7 separate regions of the Homo sapiens genome follow, and regions 1, 2, 3, 4, 5 and 7 are each linked to region 6. Evidence: promoter capture Hi-C in 16 types of primary human blood cells and fetal thymus (Javierre and others, 2016). All regions are on one chromosome and are shown on one strand. The core of a region is centred on a gene start or on the middle of the fragment in contact, and the rest is flanking DNA. Distances in the headings are between cores, read along the strand shown. Region 1 overlaps COL9A1 (collagen type IX alpha 1 chain). Region 2 overlaps COL9A1 (collagen type IX alpha 1 chain). Region 3 holds the start of LINC01610 (long intergenic non-protein coding RNA 1610). Region 4 overlaps COL19A1 (collagen type XIX alpha 1 chain). Region 5 overlaps LOC105377848 (a long non-coding RNA gene). Region 6 holds the start of B3GAT2 (beta-1,3-glucuronyltransferase 2). Region 7 holds the start of FAM135A (family with sequence similarity 135 member A).

Region 1 (3,429 bases), core at 826-3,325, 730 kb after region 6:
CTGTGGTATGAATGGTCAGATGGCAAGCAAGCTGCCTTTTTGGATCTATAAATGAACTGCTGATGCAGTTGGCTAACTAGACCTTCAGCTGGAACAATTTATTTAATTACATTTTTTTTTGGCGTGTTCAGAGCTTCATGTTAAAAAAATGGGGTCTAACTGAGACCTCTTATAAGGCTGGCATGAATTCAAAGCTTTGGGAGGCTAGACAAAATCAAATAGAGTACAGACTGAGGGTAGAGTTTTTCTTAAAGAGAACTGAACATTTTCTTTGAAAGAGTCACATACCTATTCATCTTTGTCCAGCTTTACTAGTTCAGGAGCTCATGCCTTAGGTGCTCTCTCTATGGTTAGTCTCAATTCACTCTGTAAATAATTTCTAAGAAACTCTACAGCCTTAGGTAGATTGTTGACTTCATTGGATCTGTTGTGCAAAAGCGGGTGGATCATGACGACCTGGCCTTTTCTGAGTTCACTTTAGGGAGTGGTTCTGAGAGAGCAGTCCCCGGAGCAGCGGAGTCACCAGGGACCTTGTTAGGAATGCAAATTCGCTGGTCCACACTGAGTCCACTGAATCAGAAACTCTGGGGTCGAGGTCTAGCTGTCTAGTTTAACAGGCCCTCCTGGTGGTTCTGCTGCACCTGGTGTGGAGCAATCGCCCATTTTCCTACTGAAAGGGAATGACTTATAGGGCCTATAGACATCACAGCCCTATTTTCTTTGGTTAACAGGAAGTCTCCTTGGGGCAGAGCTTAACTTTGTTTGAGCTAGTAACAGAACTCTTCTTTAAAAAATGAAAGCTAAGCTAGGACAGTCTAAAGCTGCCTTTGTCAGCCTTGCCTGCACACTGGAATTGCCTGAGGAGCTTAAAACCACTGATATCTGGATCCCATTCTCAGAGATTCTGATTTTATTGGCTTGGGCATTGGGATTTTAAAATATTCTCCAGGTGATTTTAATGTGCAGCCAGGGTTGAGAACCACTGGAAACAATGGTGAATAGTTTGGGGAAGCTTTAGCAACAGTGAATTGTGGCTAGGCTGGGTTGGGTTGGCTCTAGCAGATGAACCTCAGTTTGAAAGAAACAAAAGTAAATTTCTATATTTGGAACCTGGGAAATGGCTCTAGCACTAAGTTCGTTTGTCAAGTATAGCTTGATCATGTGAGGTATTTCCTCTTAATTTTTCTTCAGTATTCATGACATAATCTATAACATGAAGTGATACAATTCTTTTCCCTTTTCCAAAGGATTTTTTTTCTCCCTACCCTCCTCCATCCCTTTCTCGTTATCAGATTCCTTTAAAGCTGTATCTTCTCTTAGTTTAACTTCTGAGAATTTGGGGTGGAGGTAGGGAGCGGTAATTAAATTTTTAAAATCAATTAACACTGTCATACTTTTGGAAATGTATGATTTTAGGTAGCTGGATTTGATTCTTCTTGTCCCACCACATACATTAACAGGAGTATTTATTAGAAAACATATAGCTTTGTAATATCCAAGGGGTTACAGCTGAAATTTCCCTGAGCATAAACATTCCACCAATTTGAAACTTAAATTTTCAGTCAATTAGAGGAGAGATATATTTCAGTATTGCTTGCTGGCTTTTTTCCCCATCCCTGGTAAAGAAGGGATGGTATGAATCTTGCTCTACCATATGGTCACTTTGAGAGCCTTTTTCCAGAGAAACTGCTGCATAAATAACAAACAAGTTTTATTATGAATGCTTGAACAGTTCAGCCTATGTCTTAGTCACTGTTTTTCTCCTAGAAAATACTCTGAAGAACACAGTAGAACATTTTCAATAGGAACTAGTAGAAATATGCCTCAAATCATAGTCAAAGCTTAGGTTATATCTATAATTTTTCTGTTTTTCACTGACATGCTTTACACAATATTATACAAAATGTTAGGGCCCAGGCTTAAAACCTGAGAGATATCTAACTGGCCTTATATTCACTTTGCTTGGTATTACATTGGTCTTTTGTGTCATAAATATTAGTTTTAAATATTCACAGTTTGGATTAATTTTAAGTCCCTTTGAGTAAGGCTGTATATTTTTAGATATTTTAGTGTGAATCAAACAGACACTGCAATATGTAAATGAAGGTTTGAGAAAACACACATGTCATAATTATGACTAACACCTTTCTCAGTGATAATCTGTTTACATGGAGATAGAGCATCAATTATAGCTCATGAATAAATGAAATAAATAGCAACTATAGAGCAATGAGAATTTCCACTCGTTCATAATGAGCTGTTTTTCTGCTGAAGCTGTGTATTTTTCTTTATACCTTACCTAAAGCTTATTTTACAAGCTCTTTATGCATATTTTTTGACTGAGGAGGCTAACAAAGCTGGACCTTTAGTTCCCTAAGCTGGTTTTTGTACATCTCAAAATAAGACATGATCAGGGTTTGAAGTAATAGATTAACCTTGTCGATAGAACCAACCTGTATACATGGTTTGCTGTGGAGTAGCAGTTTGCAGAATAGGCTCTGTTTTGGAGCTCATCTTAAAACTTGTTTTTCTCTGACTGATAACCAAAAGACAGTATCACAACAAAGACACTGGTCTTAGTCCTCGAAGCAACATTAAAAGTTGGTGTGGCTTCATGCTAGAATGTACAAACAAGTTTAGCTTTTACTATCAGTGTAAAAGCCACACTTTAATTTATAATCTTCATCTCATATCTTCAGAAATGTGGCACATTTAGACAGTCTGTTCTCATTGCCAGCCTCCAGAATTATAGTGATATGACACTTAAATTACCAAGTTAACAAGAATGCTTATGCCATTAGTTTATAAGATGTTAATTGTCGTATCTTCCTAATATAGTAAGGCCATATTGATGATGAATGTTAAAAAAACTAGCTTATGTAAATATGAGTTCAACCTGAGTTCAATCCGTCATAGTATTTATATAAATTTAAATTGTTTTGAAATGTGATGAAATGTAGTTTATCATAAAAACATTCACATGAAGACATTCACAACTAAAATCAAAGTATGGTGACTAAATATTCACTTCAGAATTAGAGATCTTTGACTATCTGAGTGCAGATGGTTATACAGATATTTTTTCTGTTTTTGTTGTGTACATGACTTTGTTTTTAAAATTATAACAAATATGACTTAATATTGAATGAGGCTAAGCTGAAACAAATGTTTGGAAAAAAAATGGTATGTATAGAATTTATTGCAAGGTGCCATTGCATTTTCTAACAGCATAGTAGAATAATGATATACTACTGTACTACCGGAATAATGGGATAATGCCTTCAACAAAGAGCAGCAGACATCATTTAGGACCAGTTAACTAAGGAATTAATGCCTTTTGTTAATGAGGTCAAGTTGCTGGGTTTGGTATCTTCAGGGGCTGGGATAATTAATGCAACTTTGTTCTGTGGCTGCTAAATCCCCAATTTC
Region 2 (3,250 bases), core at 626-3,125, 670 kb after region 6:
ATGTCGCTTACATTCTGTGTAAAGAAGACAGATACTGTAAATACATAAGTATATGTGGAGGATGCCAGGTGGTCATAAATGCTATGGGGAAAAATGAAGCAGGATATTGGAGTGCCTTGAGTGAGGGCCTCATGGAGAAGAAAATATTTTGGCAGAAACCTGAAGAAGTTGAGAGAATTAGCATCTGGATATCTGGGGGAGGAGGATTCCAGGAAAAGAGAACAGTGAGTGGAAAAGGGTCTGGTGTAGGTGTGTGATGTCTGAGAACTCCCTGGCAGCCAGTGTGGCTGGAATGAGACTAAGAAAGGAAGTATTGAGGTTGGAGAGGTAACATGATGGAGATGTGGTTGAGAAATTGTGTTAGTACTTTGGCTTTCACACTGTGTGAGATGGGTGGCTACCAGGTGGTTTTGAACAGATAAGCAACATGTTCTCATCTTTCAAAAGGATCTCCTTGGCTGCTATTTTGATAATATATTGTAGGAGAAGGGAGAGAAGGACATAAGAGTGTAGGAGCAAGGGCTACTTAAGAGCTACTGCAATAATTCAGGCAGAGACAGCCTTGGTTTAGACCAGGGTGGTAGTGGTGGAGGTGATGCAAAGTGATCCAAACCTAATATATTTTGAGGTAAGGAAAACAGGATTTGGAGTATGAGAGAAAAAGAGGAATCAAAGATGACACCATTACTTTAGGCGCGAGTAATTGGAAGTATAGACGTGCCATTTACTGACATGAGAAACGCTGTGGGAAGAGCAGGTGTCAGGGAGAGTATCAGGAGTTAGTTTGGGTTTTGGAGTTAGTTTGATCGTTACTAGACATCTAGATGAAGTTGGTAAATAGGCAGATATATGCTTTCGGAGTTCAACAGATAGGTCCATCTGGGAATAGAACTCTGGGAATTGTCAACATACATATGGTATTTAAAGTCAGGAAATCACCAAGAGACAAGTGTAATATAGAAGTCCAAGAACTGAGTCCTGAAATATCTCTAAATGAAAACACTTAGAGATTGCTGAGATGAGGAACATTTGTCAAAAGAGATTAAGAAGGAGGGATCTGTAATATAGGAGAGGACCAGGAGATTGTGGTGCCCTGAAAGTCAAGGGAAAATAGTATTTCAAAAAGGATAGAATAAGAAACTGACTCATATGCTGTAGATAAGTCAAGTAGTTGACCATTGGATTTAGAAATCAAAGAGAGTGATCTTGAGAAAAGACCCATTGGAGTGTTGGGAGTGAAAGCCCAACTGGAATGGGTTCAAGAGAAAATGAGGAGAAGAATTGGAGACAGTAGTTGTAGACATCTTTTTTGAATTTTGTGTAAAGAGGAACAGAGGATGGCAGCTGAAGTGGTATGTAAAATGTGGGGAGGATTTTTCTTTTTATCTGACAGATAACTTAGGATGCCTCATCATAGTTCAGAGTGTAACACTTCTTGTTGCTTTACTGCGGTAGCCTCCTTCTGCCTCAAAGGATTAGGCATTTATGACCAAATGAATTTCCTCAAAATGCCCTCTAAATCAAGGAAGCTTTCCCCATCCTTATCTTTTGCAAAAAAAGTCTTTCAATGACAATTTAATAATAATATACCAAATAATATTTAAATTCCTTAGCCCTGAAGTCAAGGTGAAAAAAAAATCGGATGTCTACTCTGCCCCAGCAAATTTGGTCTCTTCTCTATATACCACTTCCTACCCTTGGGACTTGTTGTTGTAACCCCTCTATGTAAACCCTAATCTTTACCCTCCGTGTCTCTGCTTATAATAACAGAAGTGGGGCTTCAGGGCCCCACCCATATATGTGCATGCACATATATGCGCGTGTTATATGATCCCTTCATTGATGACCTGAGCCAGAAAAATATTTCTGTCATCTCCACTGCTATAGTATTTATCATCAAATCATTTTCTGCTTAGATACTGCCTTATATGGTAGACATTTTTGTGTCTTTCATGGTGTCTATCCCAAAGCACATGAATGTGTTATATGAAAATACGTTGAATAAATAAATGAGCATGTCTCCGGTCTACTAACTCCAAGTTTACTGCTTTCTCCTTTCACCATTCTGCTGTAGCCTTTGGTACAGTATTGCGTTAAATATGAGTGCTGCCTACATCCCTAGCACTATGTCTGGAACAGCCGGGTTTAGTCTACATAGAATTAGGAAATTTTCTAATTTTGAGGCAGCTCAGAGCCTCCTGCTCAGTAATCAGGAAGCTTCACTTGGAGGAGGTCTTTCATGATGGTATAAACTAACATTTGGTCATAAACTGAAAGGAAAGATGAGATCTGAGGATTCAAGTATTCTTTTAAATCTTTGTTGTCACTGAAGACAAAAGCTTAATGAAACATCTGTCCTATTAAAGAGCTAGTTTTTTGGTGTTTTATAGTTGTAAAATTTAATCATAATTCAGTTTGCAGAAATCAAACCTTGTGCCAATCTCATTAACACTGAGCCAAGTTTCATAGCCATTAACATTCTCTCTCAGGAGGAAAAGATAGTTGTCTGCAGTTAGTTTTTGTTTAGTTCTTATGAAGGACTTAAATACCTTATTAATCTTTCTTAACAACCTGGCAAAATAAGTAGAAATCGTTAACCTTGGTAAAAGAATAGAGAGTTGGGGCCAAAATTCCTTGCTTAAATGTATTGTCAGCTGGGCATTACTGTAACCTTGAGGATTGAATTATACCTTTACATTGTCCTATAGAAAATAATTGAATAGGCCAGATTCGGTGGCTCACACCTTATAATCCCAGAACTTTGGGAGGCCGAGGCAGGCGGATCAAGATGTCAAGAGATCGAGACCATCCTGGCCAACATGGTGAAATCCCGTCTCTACTAAATATACAAAAATTAGCTGGGTGTGGTGGTGGGCGCCTGTTGTCCCAGCTACTCGGGAGGCTGAGGCAGGAGAATCGCCTGAACCCAGGAGGTGGAGGCTGCAGTGAGCCAAGATTGTGCTACTGCACTCCAGCCTGGCAACAGAGCGAGACTTCATCTAAAAAAAATAAAAAAGAAAGAAAGAAAGAAAAGAAAATAATTGAATAATCCTAAATCTGGGCAGATGTGAGGAACCTTACATTCACACACTACTCATTTCTCCTTGAGACAATGGAGAAATATTTTATGTTGAGAAGGATGGCTTTTGCTAGGGCATTTTATATTCTGTTTAGTAGATTTAAAACAAACTTATTTATTTATTTACTTGTATTTTTCTTGTCTTGCAAATTATAAACCCAGTGTGGAGAG
Region 3 (3,477 bases), core at 716-3,215, 560 kb after region 6:
AACTACTTGCAATAATTAATTCTAAAATATCTATTAGGCTAGTAGTACATTGTATGAGAAGTTGAAGCCATATTCAGGTCGGGGGTAAGAAATATTTTAGACTTTTGTATTAAGTATGAAAACTCAGGTATTAGCCTGATGTTTCTTTGACTAAGCCTTGTACTTTATATAGCTTGTTCTATGTGCAGTTATGTAATCTTTTAGAGTAGCTGAAAGGATATTAAAACAATATCTTTCAGTTTTGCTTTTCTTTTCCAGTAACAAGCTTCCATGTTAATCAGCATATTCAAGCTTCCTTCTCATTAGTTTTTAAGAATTCTAGGAAATACTTTCCATGGCATGTTGTGAGAGATTTTATTATAGGATTAAAATCCTTTCAGCAAACAATAGGCACACATGAGGCAGGGTCCAGGTATTCTGTCTTATAAGCCAACACTACACTTAGGTAACTCTAGAAATGGACTACATTTAATTATTTTCTACTTTGTTTTTATGGCAAAAGCAGCCATGTCAAACATTTTTCAGATCATATCTTACCTCAGATTCTCTATCTTGTTTCAGGACAGTGGAAAAGCTGCTGGAAAAAAATGCGAAAACAATTTTTTGACTTGAGTTCATATTTTTCATTCAATGTCTGCGGGGCCCTCAATGTAACTTTTTTTTTTTTTTGAGAGGGGTCATCCTCCAATCATTAACTACTTCTAATCTTCACTGCTACACAGAGTTTCCAATATTTAGCAACAGATGGCTTTGCTTTTACCTTATAGATGAGGCCAAAGCACCAGGTAGGTGGAAGGTTCTTGTATCGGTTCGAACCCCGACAGCGCGCCAACAGACAACACGAGGCAGTGGGGAGCAACATGCTGTTTTAATGAGCGCCTGGGTGCAGGCGTGCTGAGGCTGAAAATGGCATCAGCACCAAATGAGGATGGGGCAGGGGTTTTATAGTCTCCTGTAAACAGGAAGTGTCTCAGTCTGATGTAACTGCTACGTGGTACCTGGACGGCCTCTCTCTCGGTCTTCACAGGGTACATATCTTCCGGCCAGCTCTCTTCCTGCTTCTGCTATCTTGCTGACGCATGCTGCTAGCACAAGTGGCCTTGCACCTTGGGACTGGGCCTGAGGAGGGCGGAGTTATTCATTCCCTTAAACTTTCAGGCCCCGGGGAGAATCTTTCAGTAAGAGCTCTTTCAGCTTTACCAACTACAGTCTACACACTTAACCTGCTTCCACGCACACCCTCATCGTTCTCTTTCTCGGTGGAAAATATGTGCTTCCCTTGGCAAAGGCCAACCTGTTCATCTGTGCTCCTGAACACAGCCTCTCCAATGTACTTGTTATATATATATGTGTGTGTGTGTATATATACACAACTATATATATATATACGTATATACAACTGTATATGTGTGTGTATATATACACACAACTATTTATGTATATACATATATGTATATATCCCTCCCACCATGGGGTCTTCCCATTTTGCCCAAGCTGGTCTTGAACTCCTGAGCTCAAGTGATCCACTCACCTTGGGCTCCCAAAGTGCTGAGATTACAGGCATGAGCCACTGTGCCCAGCCTGTCCTTGTGCCTTTGATTCATCATTTATCCTCTCCTTCTTCTTTATTTTTCCACTGATCCTTTGTCACAGGCCTTAGTCTTCTGCCAGCTGATAAATGGGAATATTCCACAGGTTCAGTTCTCGCCCTTTTTCTTCTTTCATTATGTACATCACAAAGGAGATCTTATCCACATTCATGGCTTCTGCACACACATTAAAGCCATGTACACCTGCCTTCAGCCCTAGGTGAGTTCTAGGTGCCCACAGGACCTCTCTACCTATCTTCTCAAAGATAAGTCAATCTTAACATGTTCAAAATGAATCCATTATAATTGATGTATTAGTCTGTTCTCACACCGCTAATAAAGACATACCCAAGACTGGATAATTTATAATGGAAAGAGGTTTAATTGACTCACAGTTCAGCATAGCTGGGAGGCCTCAGGAAACTTACGATCATGGCAGAAGGGGAAGCAAACATGTCCTTCTTCACATGGTGGCAGCAAGGAGAAGTGCAGAGCGTTGGTGGAGAGCCCCTTATGAAACCACTAGATCTCGTGAGAACTAATTCACTATCACGAGAGTAGGATAGGGGAAATCATCCTCATGATTCAATTATCTCCACCTGGTCCTTCCCACGACACATAGGAATTACAGGAACTACAGTTCAAGATGAGGTTTGGGTGGGGACTATATCAATTGAGAATTAAAAAAAATCATTTCTTCTGTATTACCCTTGTTCTGTATTCTCTCTATAGTGAATGGCATTATGATTGTCACATCCTGAAACCTAGGAATCAACTCGTGTCTTCCCTGTCTCTTACTCTCTCACCTTCAGAGAATCACCAAGCTCTGTTGAACTTAATAATAATTGACAATGCTGAATATGAAAGGCATTTTTTAAAGAAGACTAAATGTATTTTCTCAATTTTCACAGTCACTGTGTTATGTGGGTGGCTAATATCACCTCCATTTTAAAATTAAGAAAATTGAGGCACCAAGAGGCAAAATAACTTGCTTTGGTCACACAGGTAATAAACGGCAGGGATGGGATCCAAATCTAGGCAGTTTACAGCGCTGGCCTCTTAACAACCATACCATGGTCGGCTTACTAAATGCCAGGATCTTAAATACCTCTTCAGTTCATTTCCTCCTATTCTTTCTCATTTTGGTAGAGTTGGTTCATGTGCTTCTTTTCTGCTGTGTAACTTCTTACAACCTGCTGCTCTAAATCCATTTTTAAGTTATCTTACTAATTAGCCTTCATCAACATTTTCAGGAATTTGGCTAAGCTATGTCTTTGTAATCTATAGATTTGAGATTTTGTTTCAAGAAAATTATATTCAATTATATATTTGAATTTTTCCCATTCCATATATTATTTTCTTCCATGAAAGTGATTATTTGTTTAATGTCCATACCACCTCCTTTCTTATTTTATCTCTGTTCTTTTCCAATTCGTTTTATGTTATTTACTCAAGGGCTTTCTTTTTGTCCTAGACTGTATTTTTATCCATATATATGTGTTACCATTTGTTGACTCTAATGAGAATTTCACCTCTGTAATAATTTCATCTTATGCTTCTATTCATCTCTGAGCTCCACACACCCACTGTTTATCTCCTGTTCTTGCTTCATCTCTCTTTTGATCGATCTCTTGTTATTCTTTCAGGATAATTTTTTTTTTTTTAAGGAAAGCCAACTTGCCTTTAGTTTCTTTGAGTCTTGGGAGAACTGTTTGTTTGAAATTGGCCTATTTTTCTATGAATAGGTCCTGAAATTTTGTGTTCTTCATTTGCCTTTTGTTTCCTTTTTTCTCCTATGTATTTTTTCTTTACTGTCTAACCTCTACCAGGGAAATGGATGTTTCAGAAAGAATTAAAGGTAAAGACAAGTGATAGTTTCTGAAATTAA
Region 4 (3,116 bases), core at 134-2,633, 750 kb after region 6:
GAAAACCTGCTATGTATTTAACTACTTATTGCCTATTACCTTATCACTCATGGTGTAAAAGCTTCTATGGATGAGAAAAGTTAATTGTGTTATTTCTTATCTCCCTCAGGGACCTCTATAGCAAAAAGTCTCAAATGATTTTAGTGAGATGATCACTCTGGGGGACAAAAGTCCCAAAGGACTGCCTGCTTTTGGGCTTTTGATTCTGCTTATAATTCTCATCTGAAATAATTAGACTAGGCTTTTTATGAACTGCCAGGGAGATGGGTGACAAACTTGATTATTTCAAGCTGAGCAATGATTCATGTGACAAAGAAAACTATAATGATGGTACAAACATGAACCCTGCAATAGACCAATTAACGTTCCTTGGACACCTGTGGGGCTCATGGTTAGCCAAGAGTGCTTCTGGAGCATCCCCATGGTTGACACCAAACAAAATGGACTGAAGTGTGGAGCTTCAGCCATGGCAAGTGATGAAGAGTAGATATGGCCTTAATAATTGCACCTTAGATTTCCCTGACATAGGGTCAGAACCTTTATTGCTGAGATAGGTGACAAGCTCATTATGCATAATGAACATGTAGGAATCAAGGCCTCAAAGCATTATGCCCATGTGGGATTTTGAATAAAACTAATGCCATTGCACTTAACATGAGTATATTCAATTAAATCGTAAAGAGTTTGATGAGGTAAGATAGAGAACAAACAAAATGGGGGAAAACACACCCTAAATGTTATTTAAAAATAAATAGTTGTAAAATACACCCAATACAACCTGAATTTAAAGACATTAATGTGCTGAAAAACATTTATCTCCAAAATGTACTTTGCATAACACAATACAATAAAAAGTTGTAAAATAGCCAGCATCTTTACTTACACCCAGAAGCTTAGTATGGTCACACAATACACACACTTCTGATAAACTTAAATCTTATTTACCCCCTCATTTAGTGAAGCCTCCCACTTTATTAGTATTCACTTTTGACAAATTCATGAAGCAAGTAGCTAACTCCTCCAGTTGTACCACATCACTCACTATTGGATCTGAACACGCAATTTTTTTTCCATTTAGATTTTCTTAGACTTAGCTTTGGTCTTATAAGCTTGTCTTATCTTTCAGACAAATTTTTGCTGTGCTGGGTCTACTTGTCCGAATAAGTTTTCTCTGTGTTCACTTGGTTCTTCATTCAATTTAACCAAATTGATCAGTTACTCTAGCATTATTTTGTTGAGTAAAACGTTTGGATTATAGCTCCAAGTATGCCACACAATAAAAATGATGACACTCATCTGTCCTATTGCCTGAGACTTTTAGTAGTTGAATAAATTTAAGATAATTAATGCTATCTTAACCAGCCAACTAATAAATGAACACAATTCAATGGACTAAGTCACTTTGAATTACATAGGCATACAAGATACAAATTCAATTATCTTCTGCATCTCCTCCTCTTCAAAGCCTGCATATAATCTTTGTGAGCAGAGATGGTACAAAAGGGGGATGGTACAAAAATGTGTCAACACTCAAGTATTAAGAAATAACGCTGGGAAACTGCGACAGTAAACACTTGTGTGTCTTCAGAAGGTGGATACAGACAAGTATGAAAAATAATTTAAGAACAAGAGCAATGGACAAATCTGCAAAGCTTTTTTGAGTATTCATTAAAACAACGTCAGCAAAACACTTAACAGAAATTCTCAATCCCAGTGTATTATTAGTGTTATGAAAATAAAAACGGTACTTAAAAAAAACAGTGTTTCTAATTGTACTTTTGTAAATAGTGATGTATTCTAGAAAAATATAAACGTTATACAAATATAACTGTAAAATTTTAAGTACACTGAGCAACATAGAGTTTAGACATTGTGTAGTTTTATAAATTGTCTGCTTCTTGTGATAAGCTAAATCTTTTTTCTTGTCTGTTGAGAGTATCTGTCCTGTCTAAAAAGTAGGATAATTATTTAGCTGTCTTCATATTGATCACTAAAATATGAGAGTGGTGTATAAACAGTTATGACTAGTTAATCTGCATGTTAACTAAGTGTATAAGTACATATATATCCACCAAAGAAATAAAATCAAAACAGTCAACAAACCAAAGGGTACTGTGCCTGTTTCATAAAGATGCTTAAAATTAGGAAAAACATAAATTAACAAAACAAATTAACAAAAATTATCTACAAAAGTTAAAAAAAAGTGCAAAGGCAAGAGTCTGATTTAGTTGTCCACTAAACTGTTCGTAGCCTTGTATTTCTGTTAGTTTGCTCAGTTCTTCTGAACAAATTGTTTTAAACACCATCTTGTGGACAAATGGAGGTATATCACAGGTTCCCAACAGATGAGACAGACTGCAGAAAGGCTAAATCTTACCTAACTCATAAAACAGATTCATAAAAATTACTTTATAAGCCAAATATCAAATGATAATTTTCACAGACAACGTATTTTAATATAATTGCTTAAGTTCTTTAAGTGACTAAAATTTTAAAGTTTAAACAATACCATGAAATAGGGAAATAAACTTATGGGGTTACTTTGCTCACAAAGTGAAAAGTTTAAAAGGTTAAAACTTGCTGTGTTTGTGTTACGGTTAGAAGTAATGGTTACTGCCTTCAGTTGGAAAGAACAATGAACAAATCCATGAATTATTCTTCTGTTTTTCTTTGGATTCCAAAGGCCATAAATATGAATTGAAGTCATACTTTAATCTTTGCATAGAAAGACTTCTATCTGAAAGTGTTTTGAACTTGGTATAAAATGTAAGATTGGAACTCAAACATACTTGTATATGGAAATCACAGTTTTAATATTAATCGTCGTCATGGCCCATAATTATTTTGTATTTAAACATGTATGTTGTTTTCTGGAGTGCAAACAAGAGTTATTCATGAAATTGAATAATTCTTCTCCCCTGCTTTGAACATCATTAACATCTATGTGGAAATAAACACATGTTTTGGAATGGAATAAAATGGTGCAAGGGATTTGGCAACCATCAAGTCATTTAGAGGAAAACTTCCCACCCTACTTTGGGGCCCAAATTATTTAGTTTCTTTTTATTAAAGGAATTGGGCAACTGCCGAATCTCAACTTCATTTTGTGTTAAATT
Region 5 (3,210 bases), core at 237-2,736, 600 kb after region 6:
CAGCTGGGAAGTGGCAGAGCCAAAACTTAAATTTAGAAGGTTTGGTAACAAAGTCTATGCCCTTGAGCACTACTCCATAAAGCTTCCCTATAGCCCTCCTCAGAGGTTAACACTGCCAAGTGGCATACATTCTTCTAGGCCTATTTATAGATCTTTATTTTTGCTCTGTTTTTGGTCACTAAATTCATCGGGAGACTAATGTTGTAGCAAGTGGCATATAAAACAGGGTTTGCTGAGTCTTCTGGACTGCTTCTCCACCTAATTGTCTCATTAATGCTACCAAGACTTCAGATTTCAAACAAACAATACTTCATCATGGAAGCCACCCTGAATCTCCAACTGCTTTATTCTAAAAAGGAAGAAAATGAGATCCATAGAGGTTAATTAATTTCCTCCAAAGAGGCATCCTTGCTCTTTCATGTCAGAGTTAGGACTAGAATTCAGGCCTTTTGATTTAGCCAAGAGCTCTTTTTCAGTACGCCATTTTGATCTTCTGGGACACGAACTCACCACTTATGACTCAAGGGAGAAACTCATAAGAGTACTGCTGTCTTGTGATTTGGCCAATCTTGGAGAAGCACATTTTAAATCTTAAATTTGTGAATTGATTATTCTAAAAAGGAGCAGCAAATAATAGAGGGAATGCCAGCTTTCAGCATAAGCACAAAATAAATTTTTGAAATTCCTTCTGTGAAAGACAAAGCCATTTAAAATGATCTTTTGATTATAATTTACATGAAAGTATGGGATTATTATTATTATACTATTAGACAGTGAGGATCAACTCCTTTAAATGATTTTAATCTCTGGATGTGAATATGTATTAGATGCTTATTGCTGCCGTAACAAATTGTCACAAACGCAACAATTTAAAATAACTAAATGTATTTCACTATTATATAGGTCAGAGGTCTGGTAGGCTCAGCTGGCTTTTCTGCTCTGGGTACCACCATTGCACCATTTGCACCATTGCACTCCAACCTCAGTGACAAGAGCAAAACTCCAATGGTACAATCTCAGCTCACTGCAACTTCTGCTTCCCCAGTTCAAGAGATTCTCCTGCCTCAGCCTCCCAATAGCTGGGATTACGGGCACCTGCCACCATGCCCAGTTTTTTTTTTTTTTTTGTATTTTTACTAGAGATGGGGTTTCACCATGTTGGCCAGGCTGGTCTCAAACTCCTGATCTCAGGTGATCCGCCCACCTTGGCCTCCCAAAGTGCTGGTATTACAAGCATGAGCCACCACGCCCGGCCTTATATCCCTATTTTAATGTCCATAACTGTAATCACATTGGCAAAGTCCCTTCCCTTTTACAATCTAAACTAACTGTTTTTCTGGAAATTAGGATATGGAAGTCTTTGGAGAGGGTGGTGGTGGTGGTAATTATTCTGCTTACCACAGTCCACCTTATGGCCCTTAAAGATTCATGTCTATTTCATACACAAAATACATTTATTTCATCCCAAAATCACCAAAGTTCTCATCCCATTACAGCATCAATTTAAGTTCAAAATCTCGTCTAAATTCCATGAGCTCTAAAACCCCAAATCTAATCACCCAAATAATTTAAATTATATGTAGGTAGAATCTGGGTATAATCTTCCCTGAAGCACAGTTCCTCTCAATCTTTGGACCTGTAAAACTAAAAAAAAAAAAAAAAAAAAGTTATCTGCTCCAAACATACAACAGTGGGATAGGCACAGGATAACACTTACAGATATTCACATTCAAAAAGGGAGAAAGATGGGAGAATAAAAGGAATCACTGGTTCTAAGCAATTAAAAAACCCAGCCGGGCAAACTCCATTGGATTTCAAGGCCTGGAGAAAAAAATGTTCTGTGGTTCTTGATTCTTCCCTGTGAGTCACACTTTTTTTGTTTAGGAAAGGCAACACATGTTCGCAACAGGGTAGTTTTATCAGTCTGTGTCTTAGTCCATTCAGATGCTGTAATAAAAAGACCATATCCTGGGTGACTTACAAACAATAGAAATCTATTTCTTATAGTTCTGGAGGCTGGGAAGTCCAAGATCAATACACAGGTTTAGTGTCTGGTGAGGGGCTATTGCTTATGGACGACATCTTTTTGCTGTATCCTCACATGGTGGAAGGGCAAGGCAGGCTCTGAGGTCTCGTTTATATGGACACTAACCCCGTTCATTAAGGCTCTGCCTTCATTACCCAACCCCCTCCACAAAGGTCCCACCTCCTAACACTATTGCCTTGGGGATTAGGATTTTAACATAAATTTTGAAGGGACACATATGTTCAGACCATAGCAGTCTGTTTTCTGCAGGTAGAATTTTTATGGACTGACAGTTTTTGAAAATTTTGTACTCTCTATCTCTTTCAGTCCTAGCTGGCAGAATTTCTGTTGTCTTAATATTCTTAGGAACTTTGTGAGTCTCCCATGTATGTCATGGGATTCACCTTGTACACAGATCTTTCCTAGATAATACCATCTTTATTTATGGCTTCTGTTGAGATGGCCAAGGAGATTGATCTGTCACACTTTTGATCTCTTCAAGTAGTCTTTTGTGTAACTAAATATTACAACCTTTTGAGTTTTCTGAGGTATTACCAAAAGGTTTTACAGACACATCCTGGGCTCTTTTTTTATAACATGACTTCCTGACAGTGAATCTCTTAATTTTAGTCTGTTTCCATTTAAATAGGTGTAGAATTTATAAAATCACCAAGTATTGGTTTCTTTTTAATAGGTCCACCCTCAATTTCTCTCTCTCATCTTTCATTTCACTATAAGCTGCAAGAAAAAACAGGTCATACCTTCACCATGATGCTTGAAAATTTCCTCAGCTAAATGACCAGATTTGTCACTTACAAAGTCTGCCTTCAGCATAACTGCAGAACACAATATATATAAGCTTTCTGCTTCTATATAACAAGGATTCTCCTTCCTTCAGTCTCCAATATTGGGTTCCTCATTTTCTTCTCAGAGATCACCAGAGCATCCTTCAAGTCCACATTTCTACTAATAACCTATTCAAGGTAATCTAGGCTTTTTCTACCATGCTCCTAAACGTTTTTAGTATCACCACCCACCACCTGATTATAAGCTATTTCCACATGGTTAGGTATTTGTTATAGCAGTACCTCATTCCTGGTAACAGAATCAGTATTTGTTTTCTTTTTTCTTTTTTTTTTTTTGACAGAGTCAAAGTCTCTTTTGCCATGTAATAAAACATTCAC
Region 6 (3,117 bases), core at 289-2,788:
GGATGGCACAGGGAAGTTGGGACAGAAGGCTAGCTCTAGGGAGTTGTTGGGGTGGCTGGGTGTTAGTCTGAAATTTCACTCTCACGTTTCAGAATCTGAAGAGGAAGTTAGGGAAATTCACAGATGAGCCAATGCCTTTTAACAGGTGGGGGGTTCAGGGGTAGGACTGGGAGAAGAGGAGCTGTCAGAAAAGCTGGAGAGCCATTCGCCCCAGAGCTCTCAGTTGCACCAGAACGCACAGTCGGAGAGAGATTTATTTGTGAACAAGCCCGAGAAAGGCAGACAACCCAGACAAGATGGGCTCAGAAATTATTTATCATAGGCTAGGGCAGAACAGTCTGGAGCTTTCCTTCTGCTTTGCAAGCACTTCCCTGGGACCTGCCTGGGAAGCACAGCCCTTCTTCCTGGTAAGTTACAGAAGGTCAGGCACTCAGCTAGTAGGCCAGCTAGACAGCAAAAAGTGTCTAAACTAAGTGCCAACTGTTTACTTGGGGTCTTCCAGACCCTATCATGGTTCTATTCGTCATGGTACACTCTGTTTGATTTCAATCGCACCATCTTTATATGTAGGAAGGCCAAACCGGCCCGGCTGTGTTGGGTGGGATTTCTGCAGGCCATGCAGTGAGGACGCCACTAGCTATAGACACACGCAGGAGACCCACGTTCTATTTCCATATGCCACTTGCCACTGACCTCAGAGAAATCATTTTAAACCCTGAACCTCAGCTTCCTTATCCTGAAAATGAAGGCCATTCTACTTCTTAGGCCTTCTTGACAGGAGCCTTGGGAGAGCCAAACGGAGTAATTCCGGTGACAGCGAAGAACTGGGAGGGACCGTGACTCCAAATTACTGAAGAAAAATAAGTTAAACATGCTCGGCTGGAGTTTTAGGAATTCCACCCGCCCCCACCCGCCATGATCAAACTGCAGTCAGGCAGCAGCCCTCCGAATTGATTCTTTCTTATGGACTGTCTCACATGCCAAACACCTATGTGCAGCACCCCTCCATCTCCGTGGGCTCCTATTGATGTCTGCCTTGCAGTGAAAGCGCTTTTTGTTGCCGCTGTTCGATACACCCCAGCACATCAACGCAGCAGCTGGGAGCAGGAGGAGGAATCCCTTCGCTTTCTCCCCTCCTTTCACTCCGAACCCTAGGCATCAGCAGCAACGCGCGTAGCCCGGCAAATTTCCGCACGTGAATGGATTTTCCTGGCTCATCTCCAAAGACCTTGCGGTATTTCACAAAGCTGAAGAGAGGTGAACGAGCATCACCCCCTCCAGGAGGTCGTGCAGCCCCGCGGGGACGCTCCTCCCGCTCCTCCACCCGCGGTGCAGCGGCCGCCTCCCGAGCTTGCTCGCGGGGCCGTTAGCGCCAGACCCGGCGGAGAGCCAAGGGGTCCCTCCGCGCCTCCCTCTCGCAGCCCCTCTCCACCAGTAGCAGCGCTGCTGTCTTCCCACAGGAGGACTTGGGAGGACGCTGGATTCTGCAGCGCCCCCGCCCCCTCGCTTTTTCTTTCTTTCCTTGCTTTGGGATCTTGCTGCTGGATCCGGAGAGGTTCTGAGAAGACAAGAGCAAGGGACTGAGAGCAGGCTTCCGCTGCGGCGCGCGAACACAGCCGGGACACAACCCCCAGCGTCTCCACCCGCTCCTCGCCACCCCGGCGGGAATGTGAGGAAGGAAAGCCCCCAGCGCCGCCGCCCGCCCTCGAAGGCGTCCCAGAGAGCGTCCTGGGGGCCCGCGGCTGGAGCCCTTGTGCCCGCAGCACCGCCGGACTGGAGCGGCGAGGCGCACCGGGTGCCGCTTCTCGGCTTCCACTCTTCAGAAAGAGCGCGGTGGGGATCAGCGCCTTTCCCGCACTCGGCACAACTCCGGGACCGGCGGCGCGCGGCTGGACCGAGTCCCGCTTCCCGCCAGCTCACCTGGAGTCGGGGGCAGCCCCTGCCCGCCCGCCTGCACCCCTTGTCGCTCTAGCTTGCGCGAACCTGCCGCTCCTCCACGCCCAGGTAGTGAGCCCCGCGGCTCCAGGTCTCTGCAGCGCCCTCGGCCCCATGGACAGCGCACCCATCACCACTCCCTAAGTGCTGGCGCCGCCGCTGTCCAAGCTGCGCACTGGGGTCCCTCGGCTCGCCCCTCTCTGGGGTGTCCGAGAGGCCAGGGAGCGTGCACCATGAAGTCCGCGCTTTTCACCCGCTTCTTTATCCTCCTGCCCTGGATCCTAATTGTCATCATCATGCTCGACGTGGACACGCGCAGGCCAGTGCCCCCGCTCACCCCGCGCCCCTACTTCTCTCCCTACGCGGTGGGCCGCGGGGGCGCCCGACTCCCGCTCCGCAGGGGCGGCCCGGCTCACGGGACCCAAAAGCGCAACCAGTCTCGGCCGCAGCCACAGCCGGAGCCGCAGCTGCCCACCATCTATGCCATCACGCCCACCTACAGCCGCCCGGTGCAGAAAGCGGAGCTGACCCGCCTGGCCAACACGTTCCGCCAGGTGGCGCAGCTGCACTGGATCCTGGTGGAGGACGCGGCGGCGCGCAGCGAGCTGGTGAGCCGCTTCCTGGCGCGGGCCGGGCTGCCCAGCACTCACCTGCACGTGCCCACGCCGCGGCGCTACAAGCGGCCCGGGCTGCCGCGCGCCACTGAGCAGCGCAACGCGGGCCTCGCCTGGCTGCGCCAGAGGCACCAGCACCAGCGCGCGCAGCCCGGCGTGCTCTTCTTCGCTGACGACGACAACACCTATAGTCTGGAGCTCTTCCAGGAGGTAAAGGCCAGCCTGCCCCGCTGGGTGGGCGAGGGCGGGAGTGGGCCTCCGGGCCGGCCGGGCTGCAGTCACACGCCCCTTGCACTCCGGGTGCACTTTTGAGTTCTCAGTTCTCCGTGCGCGCATTCGGGGCACCGAGTGGAGCCGCTCCTTGCTGGCACTCCGCAGCCTCCGCTGGCCGTGGGGGTGGAGGGGCTGTGTGTGAGAGGATCACTGTGGCTTAAGGGGCGGGAGTCTGCCCTGGGGCTTTTCTGTGTGGAGATTGTGTCAAGAGAATAGCACAGGTGTGAGGCGCGGGAATGATTTCCAGGGGCCAGGCTCCTGACGACCTGAGGATGGAGCTTAGACCTGCAGGCGC
Region 7 (3,146 bases), core at 309-2,808, 540 kb after region 6:
AGCAGAAATTGTATGCATTTATTAGAGAACAGAGACTCTCAGGAAAATTATGCAATCAATTGCAATAGCAAATGTATAAAACAAATTAATAATACATTTTAAAAAAGAAATTCTGTTAAATTTCATTTAAGATTAGTTCTTGGACAGCTACACCTAATGGAGGACAAGAAAATTTCCAAATTTTAAGTGTATGTTTGTAGGTCAACCTTTAACAAGTCTTAACCCATTATAGTTTCATTTAGTCTGTACTCAAGTTGCTTTCCCAGGCATGCCAGGTAAACATAATTCTTAAAAATTAAAGCTTTAATCAGTAAGTGTAACCGATTTGTTGCTACTGTCACTCTTTTGATGATACTTCCACCAACCGGTAAAGAAAGAAGAAATGTTATTAAACTGGAAGATGAACTAGAAACATTGAGTGGATACCTAGCTTAGGCAGAAAGCAGCAAGGACTAGAAGGGTATGTCACAAAGAAGTCTTCAGAGATTTAATAAAAAGTAAAACAAATGGAATGAAGTTAAGAGGCTTGACTTATACAAATGGGGGGGGGAGGGTGGAAGAGTTTTGGAGGGGAAAAAATTAAGATTAGAGACTCACTGGGTGCAGAATGGAAAAGGACGTGAGGATAGGGGCCATTAGACAGAAAGCGATGAAGCAGGGTACCAGAGGAAAGAGAAGGCAGTGAGGGTTTCCGAAGCTAAGATGGGGCATGGAATGAACTCCAATGCAAAGCGATGCTAAAGCAAAACACAATCGGCAACTAACAAAAAGGGAACCAGGAGGAAGTACCGAAAGGAGGTGGATGAGAGGAAAATAAAACCAAGGAAGAAATTATGGAGGTAACAAGAGTGAGAAACCTGGTCGGCCAGGGTAAGGAGCTCCGGACAGGGAAGAGCCAGGCAAGGGATGGAAGCACAGAGATACGCTGCTTCCCAAGGAGGGACCACCCGGGCAAAAAGACACGTGGGAGGCGCGGGATGAAAAAGCAGAACCACGAAAGCGGGTAAAGGAGGGACAGAGCGACGAAGATGGAGCAGGGGTGAAGGGCAAACACGCTAGGCGCGAGGTTCAGGAAGAACGGGTCGAGGGACGCGCGCAGGGGCAGGGGCGGCCGCGGGCACCGGGAGAGCAGCGCGCCGCGGCCCCTCGCCTCCCTCAGAGCGCTCCGCACCGCCGTCCCCACCGACCTTCAACGGGGCCGGGGCCAGGCTCCGACCGCCAGCAGTCGGGTGAGGGGCCGCGGCGGGCGAACGGCGGACGAAGAGGAGGCCGCTTCCTTCCTGGCCCCTGGGCAAGAGGGACGGAGGGAGGGGTCGTGGGTGTCGGGAGCCGGGGGAGCCAGAGGGGACAGTAAGGGGGTTACCTCTCGCCCGGCTCGGCCTCTTCCCCCGCCTGTCGAACGGAGGAGCTCGTTGTCCAGCTGCAAGAAGACGGCCCGACCCGGGTCAGCACCATCCCGCCCCGGGCCCCCTCACATCGCCATCACAGCAACCGCAAACACCGCAACCGCGGAGCCGGTTCGTCACCGCGGCTCGGCTACTGGCCCAGCGCGGCCAGCGAGCATGCGCAGTCGCCCCAGTCCCGAGGGAGCCCGGGCCAGCCGGCTATACCTGCGATCAACAGGTCCCCGGCCGCACGGCCCCGCCCCCGGCCTCTCTCACCTCCTCCTCCCGCCTCTTCCCTCCCCTCTCTGAGGCTAGGCCCCGCCCCTTCAAGCTCCGTGCCCCGCCCTTCAGGAGCTTCAACTGCCCCTCCAGCTCCAGCGCCAACTGAGATTTCGAGAGATTTGTCCTCCCTACCAGGCTCCCGTTCCCAAGTTCCCGCGAGAACGGGAGGTTTGCGTCAATAAAAGGCGCGCGTCAAGAAAAGGGGCTCGCTTGTGGGTTTAAGGGATGGAACTTGGAGGTGGTTGAAGAGTAGTGAACAAGAAGAGGGCAAAAACACGGAGTTCGAGAACTTTAGCCGTTTTTCTCACAATGTTGTTTCTCCTTTTCTCTCTTTAGCTCCTCCGTGCAGTCCCGGGTAGAGAGCCCGGTCCCTGCGCTAGTCGATTTGTGCAGTAGGAAAGGAGGCTGCAGGGGATCTGCGCCGGGGCAGGACAGATGCCTTTCGGGACCCAGTGTTTGCATCTTGGGAGATGTGGGTGCTGATCTGGTTGTTTCTTGGTTTATGACGCCAAAAAGGGCGGGAGGGGGCTGATGAAGTGAAGCCTTTCGCTAATACATTCCGTTAACAGAAGCCCACGAAGGATCATTGATTTATTTCACTCTTCCCTGTTTCTGAACCTTATCTGGCAAAAACTTTTGTGGTGCATAAAGTTCAGTATGTTGCTAAAGCTGAGTTAATGAAAGGAAAATTTCAGCTGCGACTCTTGTTTTAAAAATGAATCTAGGATGGATAGTGGTGTTGGTTGCACAACAATGAATGGACATAATGCTACTGAACTGTGCACTTAAAAATGGTTAAAATGGTAAATTTTCTGTTATGTATATTTTACCACAATAAGAATGAATTAGAAGGGAAAAGCTTTGTGCATTCATTTGAAAGTAATGGTGAGGTCTTGTAACGTAGGCCATTTAGGGGACAGGTTTTGAATATATCTTTGTACCAGTTTTTTTTTTTTTCGAGTGTGTGTGTGAGACAGAGCATTGCTCCGTCGCCCAGGCGGGAGTGCAGTAATGTGATCTCGGCTCACTGCAACCTCTGCCTCCGGAGTTCAAGCAATTCTCCTGTCTCAGCCTCCCTAGTAGCTGGGACTACAGGCGCACACCACCACGCCTGACTACTTTTTGTATTGTTAGTAGAGACGTGGTCTCACCATATTGGTCAGGCTGGTTTCGAACTCCTGACCTTAGGTGATCCACCCGCCTTGGCCTTCCAAAGTGCTGGGATTACAGGCCTAAGACACCGTGCCTGGCTTGTACCAGTTTTTACATGATTGGGTGTCCTCTTATCCTGTGAACCAATTTATTTGCATTTGTATGAATGGCCTGCTTTCCTGATTTCTAATTTGTCCCTTCTTTTATAGCCCTATACCATTTTACTATCCTTGCTAAACAGGCTTTTATTGCTTGTTTTGTGACTTGAACTTTAGCCTCAAAATTGGAAAGGCTTTTTCTGTTTTTTTTTTAGTTCCAGCCATGTCT

What was found. The method cuts DNA at HindIII sites, captures the fragments that hold promoters and counts their contacts. A CHiCAGO score of 5 or more calls a contact.
Region 1: a contact is called between a fragment that was not itself captured here and the fragment with the promoter of B3GAT2 in region 6, in 4 of 17 cell types (erythroblasts, activated CD4 T cells, non-activated CD4 T cells and 1 more). The highest score is 6.3, in erythroblasts.
Region 2: a fragment that was not itself captured here is called in contact with the fragment with the promoter of B3GAT2 in region 6 in 5 of 17 cell types (erythroblasts, M2 macrophages, naive CD4 T cells and 2 more); the score reaches 6.4 in erythroblasts.
Region 3: a contact is called between a fragment that was not itself captured here and the fragment with the promoter of B3GAT2 in region 6, in 4 of 17 cell types (total CD4 T cells, activated CD4 T cells, M1 macrophages and 1 more). The highest score is 5.9, in total CD4 T cells.
Region 4: a contact is called between a fragment that was not itself captured here and the fragment with the promoter of B3GAT2 in region 6, in 2 of 17 cell types (naive CD4 T cells and fetal thymus). The highest score is 6.1, in naive CD4 T cells.
Region 5: a fragment that was not itself captured here is called in contact with the fragment with the promoter of B3GAT2 in region 6 in 2 of 17 cell types (M2 macrophages and non-activated CD4 T cells); the score reaches 5.9 in M2 macrophages.
Region 7: a contact is called between the fragment with the promoter of FAM135A here and the fragment with the promoter of B3GAT2 in region 6, in 5 of 17 cell types (fetal thymus, activated CD4 T cells, total CD8 T cells and 2 more). The highest score is 7.4, in fetal thymus.

What each region holds. Positions count from the first base shown.
Region 1 is chr6:70,228,255-70,231,683 of GRCh38, reverse strand. The region is part of intron 36 of COL9A1 (collagen type IX alpha 1 chain); the gene reads left to right. Among named protein-coding and RNA genes, the nearest start is that of COL9A1, 73 kb to the left of the region's middle. The HindIII fragment of the contact is 464 bases long and covers 1,844-2,307 here.
Region 2 is chr6:70,285,660-70,288,909 of GRCh38, reverse strand. All of the region lies in intron 5 of COL9A1 (collagen type IX alpha 1 chain), which reads left to right. Among named protein-coding and RNA genes, the nearest start is that of COL9A1, 16 kb to the left of the region's middle. The HindIII fragment of the contact is 688 bases long and covers 1,532-2,219 here.
Region 3 is chr6:70,392,327-70,395,803 of GRCh38, reverse strand. It overlaps LINC01610 (long intergenic non-protein coding RNA 1610), which reads right to left and starts at 1,602. Exons shown (of 4, transcript NR_125857.1): 1 at 1,532-1,602; 2 at 761-1,119; 3 at 538-577. LOC105377847 (a long non-coding RNA gene) reads left to right here. Exons shown (of 5, transcript XR_942668.1): 2 at 562-785. The HindIII fragment of the contact is 3,343 bases long and covers 294-3,477 here.
Region 4 is chr6:70,209,867-70,212,982 of GRCh38, reverse strand. COL19A1 (collagen type XIX alpha 1 chain) reads right to left here. Exons shown (of 51, transcript NM_001858.6): 51 at 515-3,116. Among named protein-coding and RNA genes, the nearest start is that of COL9A1, 92 kb to the left of the region's middle. The HindIII fragment of the contact is 543 bases long and covers 1,112-1,654 here.
Region 5 is chr6:70,354,816-70,358,025 of GRCh38, reverse strand. All of the region lies in intron 1 of LOC105377848 (a long non-coding RNA gene), which reads left to right. Among named protein-coding and RNA genes, the nearest start is that of LINC01610, 38 kb to the left of the region's middle. The HindIII fragment of the contact is 2,803 bases long and covers 85-2,887 here.
Region 6 is chr6:70,955,481-70,958,597 of GRCh38, reverse strand. It overlaps B3GAT2 (beta-1,3-glucuronyltransferase 2), which reads left to right and starts at 1,538. Exons shown (of 4, transcript NM_080742.3): 1 at 1,538-2,759. The coding sequence starts at 2,169. It overlaps LOC124901229, which reads right to left and starts at 2,170. Exons shown (of 2, transcript XM_047419611.1): 1 at 2,070-2,170; 2 at 1-1,966. The coding sequence starts at 2,170. The coding sequence ends at 1,240. RefSeq lists an enhancer at 1,763-2,278 and silencers at 2,207-2,336, 2,807-2,946. The HindIII fragment of the contact is 6,068 bases long and covers 1-3,117 here.
Region 7 is chr6:70,411,920-70,415,065 of GRCh38, reverse strand. It overlaps FAM135A (family with sequence similarity 135 member A), which reads right to left and starts at 1,558. Exons shown (of 22, transcript NM_001162529.3): 1 at 1,364-1,558. FAM135A-AS1 (FAM135A antisense RNA 1) reads left to right here and starts at 1,108. Exons shown (of 2, transcript NR_147708.1): 1 at 1,108-1,229; 2 at 2,004-2,238. RefSeq lists silencers at 1,042-1,191, 1,532-1,751. The HindIII fragment of the contact is 2,225 bases long and covers 304-2,528 here.